Linked DNA regions of Homo sapiens: region 1 is linked to region 2. The links are contacts of gene promoters, found by promoter capture Hi-C in blood cells and fetal thymus (Javierre and others, 2016). All regions are on one chromosome and are shown on one strand. The core of a region is centred on a gene start or on the middle of the fragment in contact, and the rest is flanking DNA. Distances in the headings are between cores, read along the strand shown.

Region 1 (5,665 bases), core at 3,072-5,571, 360 kb after region 2:
TTACATCCTTATTCTATAAGCTTTTAAGTTTTTTATTTTTTTACTTTTTAAACTTTTTTGTTAAAAACTAAGACACAAACACAGGCTAACCTACATTACAAACCTATCATCTAGGCTAACCTACATGAGCCTAGGCCTACACAGAGTCAGGATCATCAATATTACTGTCTCCCACCTCCACATCTTGCCCCCCTGGGATGTCTTCAGGGGCAGTGACACGCATGGAGCTGTCATCTCCCATGACAACAGTGCCTCTGAATACCTCCTGAAGGACCTGTCCGAGGCTGTTTTACAGTTACCTTTAAAAAAAAAATAAATAGGAGTACACCATAGATAGGAGGATACCCTAAAATAATGATAAAAGTATAGTAAATGCTTAAACCAGTAATATATGCATTTATTATTATTATCAGGTATGATGTACTGTAGATAATCGGTATGTGCTACACTTTTCTACGACTGGCAGTGCAGCAGGTTTGTTGACACCAGCCTCCCCACAAATGTGAGCAACGCGGTGTGCCGTGTTCCTATGACTACAGCATCACTAACGCAGTGTGCCGTGTTCCTATGGCGACAACATCACTGGGCAGTGGGAGTTTTTCAGCTCCGTTGTAACCTTATGGAGCCAGCGTCATATACTTGGTGCCTACTGACCACAACGTCGTTATTTGGTGCATGCCTATACTTTGTCATCACAAGTGGCTGCTGAAACTTCTCTCCCTTACACAAACACACGTGTGCATACACATAAGCACATGCACACATATATCTGGGGAGCCTTTATCTGTGCTTCCTTGGGTACCATGGTGAAAACGCTTTAATCTAGAGACTCTGGATCGAAGCATGGGAAAACAGAAAAAAAGATGTGTTTGCAGAAATGCCTGTACTGCTGTCCTGCAGGAGCATGTTAGTCTCCTACCGTGAATTTTAGAACTTCAGTCTCTTTGGCAACTGTGTTTCTGGAGCTCTCCCTGCTTGCTGGAACTGCTTGTGTACAAAGCCACGCAGTTGTGGAGGAGGGACCCTCAACCGCTTTAGCAGCATGTGCTGCCAGGGAAACCCCTTTTTCCCTTACCATGTCAGGAACCAAGTGAAATAATAGAAGCCTGGAAAAGAAGACGGCTTGCATTTGAGGTGTGGTAGGCAGAATAATGGCCCTCCAAAGAGGTCCACCTCCTAATCCCCTGGACCTTTGGATTCGTTAGGTTATGTGGTGCAGGAGAATCAGATGAAATTAAGGTTGCTAATCAGCTGACTTTAAAAGAGGGAGATGCCCCTGGATTATCTGGGTAGCCCCATGTAATCACAGGGGTCCTTAGAAGTGGGAGAGGAAGGTGGAAGAGGAGAGTCAGGGGGAGCCTGGGCACAGAGGCATGGTCAGAGAAACACAAGGCTGTTGGCTTAAGAGGACCAAGGAATGTGGGTGGCCTCTAGAAGCTGGAAAGGCAATGGAGCAGAAGTCCCACCCCCACCCCGCCCCGGCCAACCCCTTGCCTCCAGGAGGAACCAGCCCTGCTGACACCTTCAGGTTAGCTCAGTGAGACCGGCTTTGGAACTCCTAACCTACAGAATCCCAAGATGATAAACTAGTGTTGTTTTAAGCTGCTAAGATTGTGATGACTTGTTACAACAGCAACAAGAAACGAACACAACAGGTTGCCCGAAAGAGTCTCTTTCGACTCCAAGGCCATTCACTTTCCACCAGCCAGGGGTATCTTGGTTTCAGGAAGAAGATAAGATGTCATTAGATGGTAGCCTGGAGCTCACACAGGGCAGCTGCGTCCATCTGGGCAGAGAGGACGCTTTCTGGAATGGCTTTCTGTTGGTGATGCCTTCCAGGATGGCCATGGGGCAGACAGGAAAGAAGGGAGAGCCTTAGGTCGAGGGCATTGGGGTCCCTGCCCTCACAGGAGCTGGTGCTGAGGGCGGGACATGTAGGCACCAAGGGCAACCTGTTCCATGAACAGCCCAGCAAGAAGCTGCAGCACCCAGGAGGCCCCAGAGGTACCTGGGGTGAGGGCCTGCCTGGGCATCACGGCTGCACACAGTGGCTCAGTGCCAGCAGAGAACCGCCAGGGGAGAGGGGTCTCCTGCGGAGGAACTTGGTGCCTCGTGTGCCTTCCTAGTAGCTGTCACACAATAGGGACCCTGGGAATGTCCTAGGAAATGACACAGACTCCTAGCTCCACTTGGCCAGTTTCTGCATTTAGAAGGGTGAGCTCTGGGAGGACCTGCTTTGAAGACGCAGTGATGTCACGTAGACTGAGTTTGTGAACTTTCAGGGGTGAAGGATTGGAAAGCTGCCTTTCTTTGGCTATTTCATAAGTATACCAAGATAGTAGAATTCCTACAGCTAAAGAGCAGTGATGTATTACTTTTCAGTAAGCTTTGCAGACCTGGGTGTAGAAAGCATTGCAGCATCCTCACCTCTTCTCTGAGTGTCCCCTTCACACAAGTCGGCCATCCTCTGAGTTCTCAAAGGGAGGCTGTTCCCTCTCTTGCCACTGAGGCGTGCCCTCCCTGCTCCCCTCCCTGTGGCCTTGTCCACATGCTCTCTTTCACCCTCTGCCAGACACAAAGCCCATCTAAGCCCATGTCCCATAGCTCTTATCCCTGACCTACAGGACCACTCCCTCATTCCCTGAGCCTCCGGACCCTGGTCATGGTGTTCCTTTCATTTTCCTTCCTGGCACCATTTTTAGGTCATTGGTCTCCTTGAGGATAATCTGCTGAATGCCTGGTCTCTGTTGTGGGACCTCCTCACAGCTCTAACCACCTTCCTGGCACGCTGTGGCCTCCTTCTCCTGTGGCTGGACCCCCAGCCTGTCTCTCCCCAGCCTCTGCCTCCTTCTCCCATGGCTGGACCCCAGCCTGTCTCTCCCTAGCCTCTGCCTCCTTCTCCCATGGCTGGACCCCCAGCCTGTCTCTCCCCAGCCTCTGCCTCCTTCTTCCGTGTTTGAACCTCAGCCTGTCTCCCTCCAGCCTCTGCCTCCTTCTCCCGAGGCTGGACCCCCAGCCTGTCTCCCTCCAGCCTCTGCTTCCTGCTTCTATGTCTGGACCCTCAGCCTGTCCCCCTCCAGCCTCTGCCTCCCTCTCCCAAGGCTGAACCTCAGCCTGTCTCCCTAGTCTCTGCCTCCTTCTTCCATGTCCAGACCCTCAGCCTGTCCCCCTCCAGCCTCTGCTTCCTTCTTCTGAGGCTGAACCTCAGCCTGTCTTCCCCCAGCCTCTGCCTCCCTCTCTGACTGCCTCCGCCTGCCCAGCCTCCTGGGTGAGCCCCCACTGTGGTGCTTTCTGGCCCCCATTCATTCTTCTTACCTCATTTCTGCTCCCTAGCTTTCCCTCCACCCTTAGTTCCTTTCTTACCCAGCTAAGATTCTGTGGCTCATGATGTCATTCCTTCTTTTGAGCATCCTCAATTCCCTTGCCCTCTTCCCTCTCTTTTATAATTCACTTGGAAACATCCCAGCTCTGATTAAACACATTTATCTACCCTGAGGATCTGAACATCGCAGGAGACAGTTACACATCTGGCTGAGGCTCACTTACGATTCATGATTGCAAACCTCAGAAGGGTCTTAGTGCGGCCTGGAAACCCGGCCGAGTGGTCCTGGCCACTTTGGTGCCCCCAACCCCCCTGCCCCATGTCCCTGAGGACCTTTTCAGGGGCCCGAGGCAGCAGGGAGTCTCCCTTCCTGGTGAAGCCTCTTGAGCCCGGGGAACCCTGGGCGCCACCCGGGAATGGGAGCCGCCTAATGCTCAGGCCCTCCCCAGCCTGTTCTGACTTACTTGGCCTAGAGTGGGGCCCAGGCAGAATTCGATTTTACTGTTTAATTTCCTCATTTCATTGAAGTAGAAGAGTGGATCGGTTTCCTGCAGCTGCTTTTACAAATGACCACAGACATGGTCTCTTAAAATAACAGAAATTTATTCTCTCAAACTCCTGAACTGAAGTGATCTGCCCGCCTTGGCCTCCCAAAGTGCTAGGATTACAGGCATGAGCCACCCGTGCCCAGCCTTAGAAATGTATCCTGATAGTTCTGGAAACCAGAAGTCTGAATTCAGCGGGGCTGTGCTCACTCCGAAGGCCCCAAGGAAGGATCCTTCCTGCCTCTTCCAGCTCTGGGTGCTCCGGGAGCTCCTTGGCTTGTGGCCACATCCCTTGAAGCTCTGCCTCCATCTTCACATGGTCTTCTCTGTGTCGCTGTGTGGCCTTTTCTCTCTCTTACAAGGAGGCTCTCATTTTAGGTTTCCAGCCCACGTGGGTAATCCGGGATAAATTCCTCCTTTCAAGATCCTCACCATAATCACATCTTCTGCCATATCAGGTAGGGTTGATTCTCATCATAAAAGATTCTGGGAACTAGGTTGTGGACCTATGTTTTAGGGGGTCCCCATTCGGCCCACTACAAACAGATAGAAGGGAAATGAACAGATTCTAAGTACACAGCTCAGTGAATCGTCACAAATGAAACACATCCAGGCAAACAGGATACAGAAGAAGGAATAGCACCTCTCCCACATCCTGCAAGCCCCTCGTGCCTCCTACTTGTCCTTAACCCGCATTCCAACAGGACCCACCTCCCACGTCTGAACAGCACAATTTTGAACCACACATACACCGAGCCACACTGTGTGCGCTTTTGTGCCTGCTTTTTTTGCTCACCATTATATGTGAGATAAATCCCTTTTGTTGTGTCTAGTTGAAACTTGTTCATCTTCATTGTTGCGGTATAGCTTTGACTGTGTGAACACACCGCAATTAGGGATCCATTCTACTGTAGGTGGGCATTGGGTTGTTTCTAGATTTTGGCAACTATGAATCTTGCTGTTGTGATGATGTGTGGATTTGTCTTTGGATGCACACACATACTCGTTGCTGTTGTGTGAATGCCTAGGAACAGGGTTTCTGGGCCATAGGGAGATGTGTTCTCAGCATCAGTAGATCCTGCAAACCCTGTTCTGGAATGGATGAGTGAACGCTTTCTCAATAGAGATGAGAGCTCATGTTGCACTCCCTTCCACGCTGGGTACTGCCTTTGTCACGTCAGTAGTTCTCACGTGTGCAGGGTGTTGCATTGCCCTGTGGGAGATATCAACCATTTTTTCATCTGTTTACTAGCCACGCGGCTATCCTCTTCTGCATAGTACCTGTCCAAGTCATTTGCCCATTTCTTTGAATTGTCTGGATTTATTGGATTTTTCTTGTTGATTTGCCCAAGTCCTTTGCCAAATGCGTGTCTTATGAATGTCTTTTCTGTGGTCTGAATTTCCCTCTCAGTGGTGTCTTTTGATGAATAATACTTCTTATGTTCATGTGGCTCAATGTACCTTTTTTTTTCCTTTTGTGGTTTTAGTGCTTTTTTTTCTTTTCCCATATTTTCTTAAAGTTTTATTATTTCACCTTTCATGGTGAGACTTACAATCTATATGGAATTAAATTTGTAAATGTGAGGTCAGAATGGGGGATATGTGTCTATTGCCCCTGATATTTAGATACACATCTAAATATCTGCTGCCTTTTCTCTGTCTCTTGTTGTCTTCGTTTTGAGGACTCTCCTTTTCCTGAGTGTCCCATGGCTGATTTTGTGTGGGTGGCAGTGGGAGGGCAGGAGGAGGAAGAGGGACTGCTGGGTCCTGTGTCTTTATTCCCAGCTCCCTCCCGCCC
Region 2 (6,508 bases), core at 453-2,952:
AGGTTAATATTTACCTTCGACGTGATTCGAGTTCCTGGCAATGCTAAATTATTCTGCAACTTAACTTACGTGAAACTCCACACTTATCTACGCCCCACTTTGACAAGGGGTTCCTCACTTGCCCGGAGGCGGGGTGGAGGGGTAGAGAGTCGATTTCCCGTTCCAATCTCAAGAGTAAAAAAGACAAATACCTGCAGGTCCTACCCAGCAGCCCCTTTTCTTGGACTGTTACTTGTAGGATCTGGGCAAGTCACTCCACGATAAATGAGTCTGATGTTTAAAAAAAAAACTTTCAGTGCAGAGTCGGGCCTTGGCCTTAGCCTTCAACATCCATCCTCCAAAAGCCCGGGCGCCTGGGACGGGTGTCTGCACCGCGGGCGCCGGCCAGGACCATGGGCCCCGCCCCCGCCCCCGCGGCCTCCCCGCGCACTCACCCCTGGATGCCCGGGCTGTACGCGCGGCTCTTCCACGGGGTGCCGGGCCGCGGCGCCTGGGCCCCGGGGCCGCCCCCTCCGCTGAGAGCGGCCGCGCGGCTGCCGGACAGCAGGTAGTTGAGGCCGTAGGTGCTGGCCTTGTTCTCGCGTTTCCGGCGACCCGGGTGGAACTGGTGCTGCGACGGGGAGCCGGCGGGCGCGGGGCCGCGCGGCCCGGGGTGCCCGTTGGCTGTGCCAGGGGCGCTGGGCGCGCCGTCGGCGAAGTTGAAGAAGGCGCCGCCGCGGCCGCCGCCCGGCCGGCCCAGCGAGGCGCTGCTGGAGGACGACGACGAGCAGCCGGGGCTCTCGGTGCCCGACTCCGCGTTGGACGAGGAGGACGACGACGAGGACGACAGCGACGGCGACTTGTGCAAGCGCCGCGCGCCCTCGGCCGCGGGCCCCAGCGCCGTCAGCAGCGCGGGGGGCAGCGCGGCGGGCGCGGTGGGGCCGGGCGGCGGGGGCGACGCGGCGGGCAGCGCGGGGCCCAGGCCGCCACTGCCCCGCCCGGCCGCCCCCGCCGCGGCCGCCGTGTCCAGCGCCGGCGAGTTGAGGCAGAAATAGGACGCGAAGCCCGAGCCGCCGCGGCCCACGCCCTGCGAGGTCTCCCAGATCTGCATCCACAGGGCATTGGCCGGCCCCTTCTGCTCGGGCTGGATCCAGGCCACGCGCGGATCCATCCACGCGCCGCCCCCGCGGGGCCCGCGCGCCCGCCCGCCCCGACGCGGCCCCGCCCCCGCCGCGCCCCGAGGCCCGGCCGCGCGCGCACGGACGGACGGACGGGCCTGGGCCGGTGGCGGCGGCGGCGGCGGCGGCGGCGGGCGGGCCGAGCCCCGGCCTCCTGCTCTAGCCGCGCTCCCGTCGGGCTCCGGCGTGGGGCGGCGGCGGCGGTGATGGGCCCCGGCAGGCCGCGGCGGGCGGCTCCGGCGCTTGGCGCGTCCCAGCGGGCGGCTGCGGTCTCCGGGCTCCCGCTTCACGCGGCGCGGGGCGGGCGCGGGGGCCGCGGCGGCGGCGGCGTTCCACTCGGGCCGCGGGGAGAGGCCATCGGAGAAGGGCGGGCGGCGGGGCCGAGGGGGCGGGCCCAGGCGCCGAGCGGCTGAAGGACCCGCGGGAGGCGCCGCCGCCCGTGCGGCTAGCCCTCAGTCACGCTCGCGCCGCTGGCTCGGCGCTCCTGCGGCGGCGGCGGCGGCGGCGGTGAAAAGACACTCTCGGCGGCGACAGCGCGGGGGAAGGAGGGGGCCGCCGCCGCGTCCGCTCCAATGAGGGGCGGGGGAGGGGGCGGGGACGGGGGCGGCAGGAGGAAGCGCGGCCTCGGTCGCCGGGCCGTGTCGCCGGTGCGCACGCGCGACCGATTTCAAATCCTCACTAGACACTGCCGCCGTGGTTACCGCGCCTGCGCGTTGGGGCCCCGTCGGCCGCGGGCGGGGTGAGGACGGCGTCAGAAGCTACGCGACTGGGAGGGGCTGGAGGGAGAGGCGGTGGCGTTGAGCCATTACTGACTAGGCCGGCGTTGGGTGGAATAGGCAGCGGCTGGAAGGCCCGCACGCCGCCCTCGGCCCGCCGCGGCGCGCAGACCCCGGCGTGCAGACATGCGCGCTAGGGCCGGTGTCACCGGGCTGCCGCCTGAGCCGCGCTGCGCGTGCGCAGGGCAGCGTGGCCGTCACCGCCGCCGGTGGAAGTTTCCGAGCAGCCGGGCGGGGGCAGCGGACGCCACCGCAGGCGCTTCCCCCGCCGGCCGGCCCTCCCTCCTGACGTAAGGGCGGGCCCCGGTCGCAGATCCCGCCCCAGGTCTCTCATCCGAGGGTCCGTGCAGCAGGTCACGCTGCGCTCTCTGGGGTCCGCGCGTCGGCCCACGTGCTCCCTGCACCTCGCGGGGTGAGCGGCCAGCGTGCCGTGCCGGGTGGCTGGCTCCGCCGCTCCGGAGCCGGGAAGGACACGCGGCAGAGTCCTGCTCCCTAGCGGGTCTGCTTACAGGCGTTTGGTTTGCTTTTTAAAATGATTTTCTATGCGAAAAGTGAAGTGAAAACTTCCAAGTTAATTCCCTGGGCAAAATGGGCAGTGCTAGCCGAGGAACGGCTGGTGGGCGGCGCGTCCGGCCCCCGGCTTCGGTTTTTCCAGCTGCACCGAGCGGGCAGGAGTCAGTGGGAAACCGCCCGCCATCCACAGCCTGCCGTTTGCCATCCCGGTGTCCCGAGCGCGATGGAAGCCGGGTTGACAGTGGCACTGTTTGGAATACAGCGCCAACCACACATCCTGTGAGGTCCAAAGCAAACGCCAGTGTCGTTGATCATCGCGGTGCCCCGCGAGCCTGGGCGACGTGAGGCCCCGCGGCTGCCGCCCTGTCTTCAGGCGGAGTCCCCGCAAATGCACTCCCGGGCCAGGGCCCTGAAGCTGCCTTAGCCCAGTGGCGCCCGGGCTCCAAGCCTTTTAAGTAGAACGGGACCTGGCCTTCGTACAGGCGTGTTGTAAATGCTACCCCCTCGTCTCCAGCACAGATGAGTAGACATTACTAAGCACTTGACCCTTCAAACATCGCCCCAACAGGAAAGGTCCGTGTGTTGCATACAAAGGCTTTGGGGCAAGTGGTGGTGGTTAGTAATGAAAATGAATGTTTCAGACGTTTTCAAATACCTTCATATTGTACACGTGGAAATCATGACCAAGGATTAGAACGTGCATTCAGTAAACTACAGAAAATCACACACAAGTCAAACGGCCGTTATTCTGGAGCTGTTTGCTTCCAATGGCTCAGTCCAAAATCCTTGGTCATGCCTGGCTCCTCTCTCTGTCCACAATGAACACATCCTCTTGGCTCCACTGCCCGAAACAACCAGAACCCAACTGCTACCCCTCCTCCTCCCTCCACCCCTCTTTCCCCGCCACCCGTCCATTTTAAAGCAGTGCCTTCTAGCTGGTTTCCCACATTCTGCACAGCTGCTCGTGTGATCCTTTTTAAAAAACAAAAAAGATGTTACTATTTTAAAAATCATCTCATGCCACTCTTAGAATACTATGCAGCCGTAAAAAGGAATGAGATCATGACCTTTGTGGGGACATGAATGGAGGTGGAAGCCACTATCCTCAGCAAACTAACACAGGAACAGAAAACCAAACACCGCATGTTCTCAGTAATAAGGGGGAGCTGAGCAATGAGAATGCATCGACACAGGGAGGGGAACAACACACACCGGGACCTGTTGGGGGTTAGGGGAAGGGAGAGCATCAGGATAAATAGCTAATGCATGCAGGGCTTAATGCCTAGGTGATGGGTTCACAAGTGCAGCAAACCACCATGGCACACATTTACCTATGTAACAAACCTGCACGTCTTGCACGTGTATCCCAGAATTTAAAGTTGACATTTTAAAAAATTCAGTCCATGCCACTCCTCTGCTCAAAACCCTCCAGTGGCTTTCTCATTCAGCAAAATGGAACAACCTTGCTATGACCTGCAAGTCCCTTATCCCCTGGTCCTTCCCCTCTTCCCCTGCCCTCACCTCCCAGCGCTTTCCCTAGCCCAAACAATACCAGCCAGAAGCACCCCTGGCACACTCCTGCCTCAGGGCCTTTGCACTTGCTGTTCCATCTGCCTGACATGCGTTCCCTCCTCCCCATCTTAGTGAGGACGTCCAAGTGGCTCTTTAGTCTAAACTGCAAACATAACCCTCAGCATCCCGTTTCCCTTCCCCATTTGCTTTTTCTCCCTTAGTTTCCTGGAGCTGAGTAACAAAATGTCACAAACTGGGTGGCTTAAAACAACAAACGCATGCTCTCACAGTCCTAGAGGCTGAACGTCCAAAATCAAGTTGTCAGCAAGGCCGTGTATCCTCTGAAGGCTGTAAGGGAGTGTGCCCCATGCTCTCCTCTCAGCTTCTGGTGTTGCTGGCAAACCGTGGCATTCCTTGGCTTGTTGGTGCATCACCCCACTCTCTGACACGTCATCGCATGACGTTTCCCTGTGTCCTTGATTTGTGGATGCAGCGCTCCACTCTCTGTCATCATCATCGCATGGCATTTTCCCTGTGTCCATGTCTCTTCTCAGAAAGACACCAGTGGCATTGGATTAGGGCACCCTAGTGTCTTCCTCCTAACCTGATTACATCTGCAAAGAGTTTCCAAATAAGGTCATATTCGCAGGCACCCAGGGTTGGGACTTGATCATATCTTTTTGGGGGACACTATACCACGTCATATGTATTTTATCTCATTTATCATTTGTGTCCCCCGCCCCATTAGAATGCATGCTCCGTGAAGAGAGGATAGGAATGGCTTGTCCCTGCTGTGTATCAGCTCAAGGATTGTCTGACACATCAGTCCTTGGTGAACATTGGCAGAATGACTGGCAGCTGATTGATTGGCCCAGCGGGAATGGACACGGGCAGTTGCCCTTGTCCAGCTTCCAGGATCTGTTACACAGGTTGTCATTGTTTAGGTATTTTAAGTTTTTCTTGATTGCCTCATACTCTGTCTTTGCAGTTTGCCTCTAGCTAATCCTCGTTGATTTGATCCACCAGCCACCAAACAACATTTTGTAATTAAAACCAAGGTTTTGTTATTTATATATGATCATAAATATTTTTATGTAAATTAAAAGCAGTGTATATATATGTATATATACACATATACATATATATACATATGTGTATATATATGTATATGTGTAGAGAGAGAAAGAGAGAGAGAGTCTCACTCTGTCACCCGGGCTAGAGTGCAGTAACGCAATCCTGGCTCACTGCAACTTCCGCCTCCAGAGTTTAAGTGATTCTCATGCCTCAGCCTCCTGAGTAGCTGGGGTTACAGGTGTGTGCCACCGCATCCGGCTAATGTTTGTATTTTTAGTAGAGATGGGGTTTCACTGTGTTGGCCAGGCTAGCCTTGAACCCCTGACCTCCAGTGATCCACCCACCTCAGCCTCCCAAAGTGCTGGGATTACAGGCATGAGCCACCGTGCCCGGCTGCAGTGTATTTCTTAATGCAATCAAGAAACAATACTGAATGTAAAATGCAGTTTTTGAGACGCTGGGCAAGGGAGATCTTTCTCTTTATCAATTTCTACAGATAAGTGCAGCCCATTCCCGTTTTGGGCTGAAACCCTCTCCTCTCTCTCTTCGGATATTGGAGGAGGAATAATATTAGAGATTACACCATGATTTTAGTGATTTGTTCCCATGAAAAAAATGGTTTACAAAGTGTATTCCATGGACTACCCATGCCAGAATTAGCAATGCTGGTCAAAATGCAGATACCTAGAGCTCACCCAATTTACTGAAACTCTCTAGGAGCAAGCCCAGGAATCTCTATTTTAAGTAAATTTTCTGAGTAATTCTAAAACACAGTGAACTCTGAAAACCTCTACCTAAAACAGGGTTCCCAAATTCAATTGCTCACAGGTGCCAAATAACTGAAAGTGTGTAGGTATTAGCTACTGCTGGGTAAGAAGCCACCCCAAGCTTAGTGGCTTAAAATAAGTGTTTGGTATTGCTCACAAGTCTACAAATCAACTAGGTGGTTTTGCTGCTCTGGGTCAAACACAGCTGATCTTGCTCCACTCAGCTGGCCAATCAGCTGAAGGCTGGCTGGGCTAGAGTAGCCTGGCTGGCAGCTGGGGCACTGGAGTTGACAGAGTTGACAAGGACCATCAGTCTCTTGTTATCCAACAGGCTGACTCAGGCTTGTTCTCAGGTGGCTGAACAGAGTTTCAGGAGTGCAAGCAGACATGCATGAGGCTCAGAACCGGCATGCCATCACTTCCTTACCATTCTGTGAGACAAAGCAAGTGGCAAGGCCTTGACAAGTCAAGGAGTGGGAAAGAAGCCTCCACCTCTTGATGGAAGGAGCTGCATCATATTGCAAGCGGTGTGGGGCACTGGAAGGGGGAGAATGGGGGATGAATTATGCTAACCTCTACTTCTGTTATCACATGACATCCTCCCCTGTGTATCTCTCTATGCCTTCTCTTCTTGTAAGGACATCAGTCATTGGATTTGGGGCCCACTCTAAATCCAGGATGATTTCATCTGAAGATTCTTAACTGATTA

Evidence for each region. The method cuts DNA at HindIII sites, captures the fragments that hold promoters and counts their contacts. A CHiCAGO score of 5 or more calls a contact.
Region 1: a contact is called between a fragment that was not itself captured here and the fragment with the promoter of TENT4A in region 2, in 1 of 17 cell types (naive CD4 T cells). The highest score is 5.3, in naive CD4 T cells.

The regions. Positions count from the first base shown.
Region 1 is chr5:6,351,860-6,357,524 of GRCh38, reverse strand. No RefSeq gene overlaps it. Among named protein-coding and RNA genes, the nearest start is that of LINC02145, 17 kb to the right of the region's middle. The HindIII fragment of the contact is 3,865 bases long and covers 2,389-5,665 here.
Region 2 is chr5:6,708,626-6,715,133 of GRCh38, reverse strand. It overlaps TENT4A (terminal nucleotidyltransferase 4A), which reads right to left and starts at 1,702. Exons shown (of 13, transcript NM_006999.6): 1 at 435-1,702. The coding sequence starts at 1,150. RefSeq lists silencers at 334-723, 1,094-1,163, 1,464-1,833, 1,944-2,383 and an enhancer at 2,554-2,613. The HindIII fragment of the contact is 9,360 bases long and covers 1-5,922 here.